Linked DNA regions of Homo sapiens: region 2 is linked to region 1. Evidence: promoter capture Hi-C in 16 types of primary human blood cells and fetal thymus (Javierre and others, 2016). All regions are on one chromosome and are shown on one strand. The core of a region is centred on a gene start or on the middle of the fragment in contact, and the rest is flanking DNA. Distances in the headings are between cores, read along the strand shown.

The links. Contacts are between HindIII fragments. The CHiCAGO score rates a contact against its expected background, and 5 or more counts as called.
Region 2: a contact is called between a fragment that was not itself captured here and the fragment with the promoter of FMO4 in region 1, in 1 of 17 cell types (non-activated CD4 T cells). The highest score is 5.2, in non-activated CD4 T cells.

Annotation. Positions count from the first base shown.
Region 1 is chr1:171,310,437-171,316,974 of GRCh38, reverse strand. It overlaps FMO4 (flavin containing dimethylaniline monoxygenase 4), which reads right to left and starts at 2,792. Exons shown (of 10, transcript NM_002022.3): 1 at 2,562-2,792; 2 at 648-789. The HindIII fragment of the contact is 2,730 bases long and covers 1,488-4,217 here.
Region 2 is chr1:170,694,224-170,700,761 of GRCh38, reverse strand. All of the region lies in intron 1 of PRRX1 (paired related homeobox 1), which reads right to left. Among named protein-coding and RNA genes, the nearest start is that of PRRX1, 33 kb to the right of the region's middle. The HindIII fragment of the contact is 615 bases long and covers 3,317-3,931 here.

The DNA.
Region 1 (6,538 bases), core at 1,543-4,042:
ATGGCTCTGTAGCTTGTCTCTTAATCAGATCAGAAGCCCCAGGCACAAAATCTAAGAGAATTTACTGACTGGAGGGAGTAAAGAAAGACTCCTGAGTCCTCCAGGAACCCTTAGACTTACCTGACCCTAAGGCAGATTCATGAACTTGCAATGAGGATCAGAAGGATTTCCTAGGGCTGCCAATTTCTGAATGTATTTGCTGCCTTGCCTTTGTAAGGCTGAGATTGCCATACCTGGCTTCATTATGTATTAAAAAATGCATCATTTTTCCTCTTAGACTTTTTATTTGGGAGTCCCTATTTAGTTGAGAGAGCTATATGGAATGCAATGAAAATGGATTTTGGAGGCAGCAGAGTTGGGTTTGAACTTTCTCTGCTACCAACTAGCCATATGACCCTGAGCAACCGACTGAAGCAACCTTAGATATATTATTTGTAAAATAATAAAAATATCTATGTTGAAGGATTGTTTGCATTTTAAAAAACTTGATATTACTTACACAAAAAAGTGCCTTGCACAAAATATTTACTCAGTGTTCATTCTCTACCTCCCTACTTGTCTCCTGTCTTCCTTCTCTTCTCCTTGGAAAAGACAGTTCATACAGATAAAATGTATCAACAAGTTTGGAAAGGAGTAGGCAGACATACCTGTGTTTTCCTTTGAGTTGAGGAGTAGGAGGTTTAGACAGCTTCTAATCAGAAACAAATGGCCTCCACCAATAAGAATACTTGAATTTCCAGGCCACTAGGTAGAGGCCTGGGGCTGGCAGATCTTTGCTGTGCTCTATCTCTGCAATCATAAGGTAAAAAGAAATGACTGCTAACTGAATTGCCAAAGTGAAAAATATACTGACGTGAATAGACTGGAAGCAAATTAATTCATTCAACAAATATGCCCTGGGTACCTCTAAGTGCAGGTCCTAAGCTAAGTATGGGGCCCTGAAGATAATGAAGACCCTGCAACTAAGAAATAGTAGTAAAGTCTTAGAATTTAAAAAAGACCGTGACTGCTCTTAAGATGTTGTATATGGAGAGGCTGATACTACCTTGTGCTAAGTCCTATGGTAGCAGCATGCTCTAGGCATGAATGCTTGCACTCTCCTGGCCTGTTTATTATCCCTGTCTAGAGACCTAGTTAGTGACACAGAGTGGCCTGTGGGGTTAAAAACGTGCTGGGCAAAAGCACTTTAAGGACTGACTTAGAGACTCTACAGGCAGTAGAAACAAATTGGGAATTAGCACCTTTTAAAATTAATCCGTATTTACAGACTATAAATTTCTGAATGGGAGCAACCTTTTTAAATTTTGCCTTGAGTCAGTAGAGGAAGGTAGTGAGTGAACTGGAAATTGAGAGATCTGAGTTCTAGTTCTGCTTCTGCCTCTAAGCAGCTTGTAACCCTGGACACAATTCTCAATTTCTCTGAGCCAGTGCTTCCACATTTGTAAAACAGAGGGTTCAAGTGGCTTTCTCTTTGTTTCCTTCAAGCTTGAAAGGACTGTTCTTATGTCTGAAAACCAAGTAATTGGTGCACAAAAAAAAAAAGATATGAATTCAAAGGTAGGCGAGAATACTGCAGGCTTGAAGGATTGGGAGAACGTGTGTGCAAACTCTGCAAACTATAAAGTGGACTTCATAAGGTACTTGGTTGCTCAAAGGTGCTTATATTTATTTATTTATTTATTTGAGTTGGAGTCTCACTCTGTCTTCCAGGCTGGAATGCAGTGGCACAATTTCGGCTCACTGCAACCTCCACCTCCTGGGTTCAAGTGATTCTCCTGCCTCAGCCTCCTGAGTAGCTGAGACTACAGGCAGGCGGCACCACGCCTGGATAATTTTTGTATTTTTAGTAGAGACGGGGTTTCACCATGTTGGTCAGGCTGGTCTCAAACTCCTGATCTCAAGTGGTCTGCCCTCCTCGGCTTTCCAAAGTGCTGGGATTACAGGCGTGAGCCACCGTGCCAGCCATAGGTTGCTTATATTTAGTCCCTTGGCAGAAAGGAGACCTGACCTATTGAACTAGACCTTTGTACAACGGGAAAACCCCACCCTATACCTGACTGACCAGCAAATGTAGGAATCCTTTATGAGACATGGAGAGACTTGGGTGATTTGCAAATCATGTAATCAATTATGATTTCTTTGAATTTGAAATTTGATCATTTTATGTTTCTTATCATCATCCTACCATGCTCTTGCTTTGTTACAGTATTTTTTTCCCACGCCATCTATGGGGTATTTGTTTCCCAATGGCTGGCATTTCCATCTCATTCATAAGATGAAATCAGAGGTCACTGGAGTCACTGAAAGTCTCATGATTCTGTTTATCTCACTGACACTTTCCTTTTGGATGGTTCTGTCCACAACATAACTTTGTTTCCTTACAACTTCCCTTTGCTTCCTGACTCTCTCCTTAATTCTCTTGCTTTAGCCCTAGTCAAGAGACCCCAAAAGAAGATAATCACATTCATTCTTAAGGAACACACTCCAAGAAAAACATTCATCTTTTGTGAAAGCAGTTTCTGGATCATTTCCCCATTAAAAAAAAAATCCAGGACACTTACCTTGGTTAGCATAGAGCAGATTCTTTGACTTAAATTATTTCTCAAAGTCAAGGAAAGTGTTTGTCTTTTTTTTTTAAAAAAGCTCAAAACCCAAATTCTTTTTTCTGAAAGAAAAATAAATGGAAAGATGACTTTTGTAAAAGTGCCCTCAGTTTAAAACAAAAGCCATTCGTCTTTTCTGTTATGCTAGTGACAGCAGAAAGTATACAGACTAAGGAAAAAAAGTTGTGTAAGAGGCAAGCGTGATACTTCCGTGATCTTAAGGGAGGGCGGAATGGTGAGTTAGAATACAGCTGTTGGATTGGCAGAACATAAACGCTTCCTGCCCCTTTACCCCACCCTCCTCAACGTCATAGTTCTGGCAAAGCCCTAAAGCTATGGGAAGCACATGATAGCGTCGCTTTTGCCATTATAGTCTGTAGAGGGCGCCAAATCACCCCAAATTACAGCTTTCTCAGCGAAACAGGAGTTCTACTTTTGGAAACAAACTTCTACACCCTGACTCTTGCTTGGATTACCATAGGAGCTGTCCAAAGGAGAAAGTTATTTAGATGACCATTACCTCATCAAGTTCTTTCATGCTTGGAGTTCTCCAACCCCAGAAATGTGATTTTAAAGTTCAGGACTTACAAGGAATTTAAGCTGTTTTGTCCTTCAGATTGGATCAGCAGAGGGAGCTGGTGAAATGTGTTTGAGAAAGCATAAAGCTATTTTTAGATATTAACCTAGGGCACAAGAAAGGTAATAATTATAGAAGCTGTGGCAGAAATAGAAAACTTAACTGTTTTTCCTTCCACTGTGTGCTTGTAAGATAATATAACAGACCATCTTTAGGACTTGTGTTTAGGGACATTTTCCAACATGGTTCACTGAACAATTTCTAAACCACATTTGCTTGTGACTACACATGCAAATGCCTACAGGAGTGAGGAGGGTAACATACACGAGGAAAGTGGGCCAGATATGATCTGACTGGAAAGTACTTTCTCTGTCTATTCAGTTCAGCTAAATGTTGCTATTTGAGAAAATGAGCCCAATATGGCAAGGCCTTAGGTTCTTTTCAGTAAAAGCTGCAAATACAGATTTTAATATAAAATCTTCTGTTGGCAGCAAATATTTTCTTTTGAAAAATATCATGGAATATTATGCAGCCATAAAAAGAAATAAGATCATGTCCTTTGCAGGGACATGGATGAAGCTGGAAGCCATCATCCTCAGCAAACTAACACAGGAACAGAAAACCAAACACTGCATGTTCTCACTCATAAGTGGGAGTTGAACAATGAGAACACATGGACACAGAGAGGGGAATGTTGTAGGGCCTGTTGTAGGGTAGGGGGTGAGGAGAGGGAACTTAGAGGAGAACAGGTCAATAGGTGCAGCAAATCACCATGGCACACGTGTACCTATGCAACAAACCTGCACGTTCTGCACATGCATCCCACTTTTTTTTAGAAGAAATAAAGAAAAAAATTTAAAAAAAGAAAAAAAAATATTGTGTCCAGAGTTAGTTCCTTCCGGTGGGTTCCTGGTCTCCCTGACTTCAAGAATGGAGCTGCGGACCTTTGTGGTGAGTGTTACAGTTCTTAAAAGATGGCACAGACCCAAAGAGTGAGCAGCAGCAAGATTTATTGTGAAGAGCGAAAGAACAAAGCTTCCACAGAGTGGAAGGGGACCCGAGCCAGTTGCTGCCGCTGGCTGGGGTGGCCAGCTTTCTCTTATTTGTCCCCTCCCATGTCCTGTTTCTGTCTTATCAGAATGCCCTTTTCTCAATTCTCCCCACGATTGGTTACTTTTAGAATCCTGCTGATTGATCCATTTTACAGAGCGCTGATTGGTCCATTTTACAGAGCACTGATTGGTCCATTTTACAGAGAACTGATTGGTGCATTTTACAAACTTCTTGCTAGCTACAGAGCACTGATTGGTGCATTTTACAATCCTCTTGTAAGACAGAAAAGTTCTCCAAGTCTCTACTCGACCCAGGAAGTCCAGCTGGCTTCACCTCTCAATACCCCCTTTAAACAGGACACCCCAACTGCTTTTGAGAATTGCGCAATGACTGCTCTAGCTACTTCCTGCTGGATAGGGGTGAAGAAGAGACCCTGAATTGTAGTATCCTCCAGAGGGAAACTCTCTAGGTATCAAAGGGCCAGTGGGTCGATCCAGGGGGTCCTTGGTAGAAGTTGTTAGTTGAGCTCATTTGGGGTTTAATTTGCAAAACCATCTGTAGCTTGATGGCCTCGATCCTGGAGGAAACAAATTGACAAAGAGCTTAAAAATACAGGGCCCGAAGGCAAGTAATAGCAAGATGGTTGTCATGAGACCTAGAAAGGGGAGAAGCCATGTTGCCCAACTCCAGAGAATGGTATAAGAATTTGAAAGGCATTGTCTGATTTCAGAAGACTTTTCCTGTAAATGCCGGGTGGCGTCTCATATTAACCCTGACTGGTTAGTGTAAAAGCAACACTCGTCCCCTAAGAAGGTGCAAAGTCCTCCTTTCTCAGCAGTGAGGAGGTTAGGCCTCAGTGGTTTTAGAGAGTCACTGCTGCCAAAGAGTCTATTTGGGATTGTAGAGTAAGGATAGATTTTGTTCTTTCTTGCAAACTGCCTGAGAAATGCTTTGAGAGTGTGTGGTAGTAGGATAATGAAGTGGATAAATCTGCTATTCCGGTTCCTGTAGCAGTGGCCATTCCTAACCCTATAAGTAGGGGTATTAGTTGTATGGCCCTGTGCTGATGGACTTGTGCTTTGAGGAGCACTGATAGGGTCTGGGCAATGTTTATATTGGGACTTAGGAAGACTAAGGTGCAGGTGCCTGTCCAGTTGGTGGGGAGGCAGATATAGGTTGACATTCCATGTAAGAAGAATACGTCTTGGCTGGGTAGACAGAACTGGTTGTGTACGTTAAAAAGGTGTGTGAGTTTGTTGTTTTCATTTTCCCATACTCCTAGAGTACGTGCCAAGGTGGCTCCGGTGAGTGGCTGGAAAGGGGTGTTGGGAGCAAACTGAGTGGCTCCCTGTGCTCTATCTTCCCATTGGGGGAAAAAGCCGTTTTGTATCTACTAGGAACCATTCAATAGATTAATTGAAAGAGGGGATGAGGAGGCATTCACTAGTGGTGGGGGCACTGCTGCAGGGGGTCCAGGGGTGAATGGTCATGCAGGGAGTATGTTTGCTATTAAAAAACCCAGACTGTTTGTTAAGCAGGGAGGAGGTGATGATTTTTGGAGGCTCTGAGAAGTGGACAAGCCATCTGAGTGGAGCTGTTTGGGTGACTCGGAAGTTACTATAATCAGTTCGGGCTTGAAGTTGTAGGATGTAATTACACTGATGGGATAATAGGTCCCCCAGGGGCAGGCCTGATAACGGGTTGTGTTGGATGCATAGAGGGGCTTGGAAAGTTAAGATGGTATTCATGGTTATAGGGATTTGCCTTCTCAACCTTCCCTAAGGATTGTGGCCTCCAGGCGCAGTGGAGGTAATATGATATCCCTAGCACCCTGGAAATTCCCTGTTACCGTGGCTTTAAAAGCCAGACCATTGTCACTTTGTAAGCTTTGGGGAAGCCCAAATCTAGGAATTATTTCATGCATTAGGACTTTAACCACTTCCTGAGCCTTCTCTGTCTTGCAGGGGAAGGCTTCTATCCAATTTGTAAAGGTTTCAACACAGACCAACAAGTGTTGAAATCCCTTAGACTTAGGCATATGGGTGAAGTCTAACTGCCAGTCCTCTCTGGGATTGTGCCCTATTCTTTGTTCCCCCAGAGGGGCCTTATGATGGACCAAGGGATTATTCCTTTGGCACACCTCACAGGCTTTGACTACTTGTTGGATGGTCCAGAGGAGATTTGGACCCGTAAATAGAGATTTAGCCATTTGATGAGTGTTCTCAATACCCATATGAAAAGTTTGGTGGAGGGTCTTAAGTATTTTCCACTGTCTGGCTTCAGGTATGAGTACCTTTCCCTCTTC
Region 2 (6,538 bases), core at 2,375-4,874, 620 kb after region 1:
AACGGGTTTTCAGCAGCAAAGTGGGTGATAAGGGCAGTTTTGTCTCCAGGTAGCATCCTGGTAACTTGGAGTTTGGTTTTGGCTGGGCATGAGACAAACATTAATGCTTTACAGATTCAGAAGGACAGTACTAATAATACAGCCTGTCTGCTACTTTTAATGGATAGGATGCTCAAGGCCTCTCTGACTGCTAAACTTTGACCACAATATCTCTGTCCATCATCTCCCACTTTCTCCCCTGTATAGGTCTGTTTTCAATTCTCCTGGTCATCTTTCTTTCAATCTATGACACACACGTGTATCTAAATTACTAGATAAGTAAAGCAGGAATTCAAGACACAAGGACATGTCATTTTTTAATGTATGGAAGAGCTCTGACGGACTTTCCAAATGGTCTGAATATATATCCTAAAGGTTCTCCACCCTATAGTAGAACCTGCAGTAACACACTCATCAGCGGTTCTATACTAGCTAGAAACACCTCCACCTGCCAACATTTCACCTGAGACCTACTGGACTTCCTGGGCTCAGGAATTATTTCCTATGAATGAATTTGGCTTGAACCAACTCATTCACACAAAAAAATAACTTCCAAATGCATAAAATTGAATATGGTGTTTCATTTGCTTAAAAAAAATGGCCATAGGAGGCCATAGGACATTTTTAAGTTTGTAACCCCATCAATACATTTAAATATGATTATAAGCATATATATGAAAACCCTTGAAATCCATCCGCTTGGCTGGGCTCAGTGGCTCACACTTGTAATTCCAGTACTTTGAGAGGTTGAGGCTGGCAGATCACCTGAGGTCAGGAGTTCAAGACCAGCCTCGCCCCATCTCTACTAAAAATACAGAAATTACCCGAGCGTGGTGGCAGGCGTCTGTAATCCCAGCTACTTGGCAGGCTGAGGCAGGGGAATCACTTGAACCCAGGAGGGGGAGGTTGCAGTGAGCCTAGATCACGCCACCACACTCCAGCCTAGGTGACAGAGCGAGACTCCTTCTCAAATCCATTCACTTGCACTTTTGAGGCACACTGGTATTTCTCGGTGCACTTTTGTGTTGCTTTGTTTCATTGTGAAAGGTATGAATCTCAGTTTACATCCAAGCAAGCCAATCTTTCTTTGAGCCCATAGGAACCTGATTTCTCTCATTTTTGCCATCCTCTGGCCCCTTTTACTATAATTTTCCCTTCAGTCTTGTGGTGCACAGACCCTTGGGGAAGCCTTTCCCCAATCCCATTGCCCATAATACAGTTTTCTGTGAACAGACTAGAGAGCCATCTTCTTGCCATTTATCTAGAGGAGCTGTGTGCAAACTAGAGCTCATGAATGGGACAGAGAAAGAAATGAGACCCATTTAAAAACTCAAATAATTCTCATTCCAAGGAAGTAAACATTTGCCCCTCTGAAAGGGTTTTGTAAAATAATAAAATAAAAAGTAAAATAAATAAAAATCCTTATTAATGTTCACTAGAGAAACAGAAAAGTCTTTTCCACAGAAAAGTCCTTTATGTGCTGAAATTGGCAGCCGGACGGCCTGAGCATTTATCTCCTGCATAGAAAGTGCTCTGTCAGGAAAGCTGTGACTAACAATAAGCTGAAAAACACACCACAGACTTCCACTGTATTTTATTTGGCAGAGAGGAATTATTCCTCAGCACAAAGTATTTGCAACTGGCATCAGTTAAACAAGAAATTACAACCTTTAAAAGCCCTATTTATCATTAGCTGCAAAAGTGCAGACTTCACCGTCAATTACTCTGACAAAGGATCACAGACCATCAACACTGCACACAGGATAACAGTCTTGGCAGCCAAAAGGCCTTGCTGAGGGGAGGATTAGACAGCTAGCTAATAGCCCGGGGCCCCTTCTCCAGAGACCCCCTTGACACTTCCTTAGCCACCCTCCTCCCCTCTCAGGACTGACTCTCCTATCTCCAGCCCTCGTCTCCCTTCACCTCATCTAGTGGAGACTGCTGGACTGACAAGGTTTTGGCAGAAAGATGTGACAGTTGTGCCACCGTCATTTCTTAAGAATCATTGGCCAAATCAAATCAGCAACAACTTTACGCCAATTCTGCTCTGAATGTGTTCTGTGGATGAAAATGGAAATTACTAGATAGATATCTGAAAGCTGAAGAAATAATACGGTGTTACTCCTCTCAGCTGCTTTGCAAGGCTAAATGGTCAGGAAAAAAAATAGTCTATTTTAATACGCAAAAGGCCTCTACTGTGATTCTAAAACAACTTTCTAAACCCTGAATAGTGCCTATGTATTCTTGGAAGAAGCCTTTTTGCATTGAGCTGAAGCATTTCCCCATCTTTAAATGATTCCATTCTTTAGGATCCGAAAAATAAAGAGACGCTTTGTTTTTCAGTTTTTAATTTTTTTAAAAAGTGTTTTTCTCAAGTGGTTATATAATGATAAGAAATCTCTTTCAAGAAACATATATAAGTATATAGCCTTATTTAGCTTTAACTTTCCAAAAAAGTACAAGGTAATAATCAGTGTTTCTGTCACCTTGTTGCCAGTTAAGTTGGTTTGAAATGGTCCTGGAGTTTCTCTCAGAGGCACAAAGCTTACAGATGATTATTTTTCTCTTCAATATTTTTGTTTTTGTTGGCTATATTTGTCTCCATTTACAAATGTGAATAATTCTTGAGAATAAAGTAAAATAGCGTAATATGTGTAAACCACTTACATAAGATTTGGCTCATAGTGTTTAACAAATGATGATGATACTGATCTTGGAGATGATACTAACAAAGATAAAGATGATGATGATGGGGAGGTGGAATATGCAGTATTAAAAATTATGTTATATAAAGGCCTTTTAATAATACAAAAGAACACAGTGATTTATATATAGATCTAGATCTATTTATATATGTATATATAGATATACATATTTGTATATCTATATATTTATACAGAGATATATTTCTACATATTTATATATACATATTTATATATCTTTATATGTATATATTTATATATCTATATATGTATATATATTTATATATGTATATATTTATATATCTATATATGTGTATAGATATTTGTATATGTATATATATGCATATATAAATATATGTATATTTACAGATACATAAAATATATCTTTTTTTAAGGATTCCAGCTGCAAATATGGTGTATTCTTAACTATATAAGAAAATGTTCAGCAAAAGATTGGAAGAAAGTGCCTTTGAATAATGCAAAGATTAGAAGAAAAACCTCTGAATGATGCAATAATGAAGACTTTTTCCCTTATCTTCCTTTCTATATAGTTCTCTAATTCTTTAAGATAAGCTTGTCTTACATGTATTATTATAAGAAAATAGAAAATACAGGCAAGTCAATAAATCAAAACAAAAATATCACACTTGGAAGATTATGTATTTATAAAACTTTTACACATGCAATATTATAACCCTTCAAGGGAGATCATTGTTCCCATTTTACAAAAGTAACTAATGCTCAAAGAGATGAAGCTGTTTTCCCAATGGAAATTAGTTCCCCAGCACAGCCAAAGCTAAGAAAGACATGGCTTATCTTACTCCTAGGCCTCTGCGCTTTCCATTTCTCCTGGCTGTCTCCTGCCTGGAGAGCGTGTGCATGCATGTTCACATTCCATATCTTTTCCAGTTAATGTGTATTTAAGAAGTGGCTCTATTCATGTATGAGGCCCCTAATCTCTCCAGATTAGAGAATGTTCCTTCACGTTTGGTCTGCTATGTTCATGAAAACTATCACAGGGCTATCGCTTGTAGATGACCTCCTCCAAAAATCACAGGAGTTTGGATAGTTTTATTTAGCTCTATTAAGTTCAAAAAATGTGCCAGGCAGATTCTCAGTCCAAAAATAATCTCCTTTCATTGGTGTTCTAAATTAACTCATGGAGGAATGAGCCGAGCTAAATTAAAGCTTTCATACAGTGAGGCCCAGGGATTTTTACTGAGTGGTAAACGTTTTCTTTCTCTGTGAGAACTTTACTGTTTCCTTCCTCTAAGAGAGGCTGTGCTTAGAAGCAAAGAAAGTAGCTCAAAGCAGATTTGTGAGAATTCATTTTATTTGACAAAGACTCTTAGTGTAAGCCCCCAGTGTGGAACCTTTAAAATTTTATAGGTTTTCCTACCTTTTAAAGTAATTTGCATGTAAATAAAGGGATATTAATCTCTAGCACAAATGGCAAAATGTGTTCTTTGCCCTTTTTTTAACTGGAAAATTGAATTCGTAAGAATCATTGAGTGAGGTATTTTTACTTATAAACGACTTCAAATAGTTTGACAAATCTTGACCACATCTCTTCTGGACTGCTGGCTGCACCTTATGTTATCTTTTCATAACTATTGGAATACTGTGGCACATTCCTCTCTGAGAACCGCACACTAGAGAATAGGCAATGTAGGACGTAAAATATAATGTTAAGATTCAGGGTTGCCTCTTTTTCTCTAATATAGACATATCTCTGCTGGTCATGGTTAATGACGTATTTATCACTATTCTTGCAGTGTGGGGATAACACCCACAGGGTTTACAAATAGACCTAGACAAGCATGCCTGGCTTGTCCTACTGCCATATGGCCCGGATACTTTTCATGTGTCACTCTCTCCTTTGCTCCTGCCTACCTTGCACCTTGAATGAGTGACCAGTGCAGGTGTGAGGCACATGCTGATCCCTTCTGTCTCTTTTTCTGTACTGGTCTTTGGACATGTCTACTGCTAAAGATAGAGAAAACTAAAAGGCCAAACAAAGCCTTTATGTTGAAATGTAGAGAAAAGCATGTTTTATTTTATTTCTCCACACTGGACATCTGGATGATCCTAGAAAAGTCATCCTAAATTGCTCCAAGCATGTGCTATGCATTCAATAAAGGTTCCATCAAAGGTCTCAGAGAATAGAGAGGGGGGGAAAAAAAGCATACCCAGGAAAAGAAGAGAAAAGAGAAAAGAAGGATGGGGATCACGATATTTGAAGGAAAAGATGCACGTTCATACTGATCACACAAAGAAAAGTGTGTGAGAGTGAGGGCAGGCACTCAGGGACTCTTTACAGATTTGTTGTTGACTGGAGAAGTGTTTGAACTAATAGGAAATATAATTGATTGGAATTGATATGTTTAATTAAGTTGCAAAAACTCAAGCCTGGCCACATAAAAAATTGTGGTCTTGATTCTGAAGAAGAAAATACTCTCTTCTATTCAACTGTGACTGAGGATCCCACACATCCCCAGCAGAGAAGAATAGCCTTTCTACCCCTGGACAATTACTCCTTCCACCAAGCGTATGTCAACAGACAAATGACACTAGTGTCAAATATGTTCTAAAAAGGTTTTGGTAAAAAGAGAAAAACATCCAACTGATTGAACCTTAGGTATGTAGTATTAAAATAGCATCTCGTTTAGAGTGTCTACAACCATAATGCAGCTATGGGAAAGCCATTGGTGGGACATAATAAGCATTATGTAGGGGCTCAGTTTCCAGTCACAGTTGTGCAGCTAGCTGGCTGATCTTGTGCAAATCACTTCAGTTTCCTCATTTTGCCAGTAAGAGATTTGGAAGGGCACCCTCTCTAGCTCCTTCTGTCTCTAATAGTTCATGGGGTATGGTTGTTGCATTTAATCATAACAACATCGGATATCTTGCAAATCAGGCCTTCACGGACATTTAGCAAACCATCTCCACCATCACTGAGGAGATAGACTCTTCCAGTGCAAGTCTTTGCAACTACAAGTAAGGTCAGATCACCACAGCATATCTCCCAATGCATCGGATTGTTAGACTATGTCAGTTTCTCCAACTTACTACATGAAGAGGCTGACTGACATATTAGAAGCATTGATGCCTTTAGCCTCCTCTTAATTCTTAAGTCTACCGTTATTTTAAAAACAACAAAATCCTTAGATGTTATCATACTTTTAATTTTTATCTATAAGGCCACTTCAAGCACAGCTGTTACTCATTAGATCCAGTGGCTGAGAGCATTTGATTACTACAGGAAAAGGAAAAAGGGAAATCAGTAAAGTTTCATTTACAATCTGCTTTCATTGTAAAATAGCAGAAGTCCTGAATCAACAAGAAGATCTGCTTGGTACTAAAAGCATAAATATGCTTTCTTAAAACAGCGGTAAATACTGTGGGCACATTTCCCAGATTTAAAGTACTATCCTAATTCTGTCTTATTTTCCCCATAAGTACCCTCATACTTCTCAACCCGTGTGACTAGCTTTTGAATAAGCAAATGCAATTATATAGGGAATATGCCTCTCCTAGATGGAAATATAAATTTTGCATGCACATACACATAGACATTCACAGAATTTTCATATAAATTTCATAAGAATCATTTCCACTCTACAACGAAAACAGCTGTTCTGTGTGAAAATCTTGAAGCAAGGCTGGATCCTGTCTGCCAGGAATACTGGAGAAGGAATTTCGGCTCCCAGAATAGGTTTGGTTTGATCATTTATAAGCTCTCTTTCAACTCTGAATTCAAAGTTTCTGTAAGTTACTATTTTTTCCTAAATTCATTT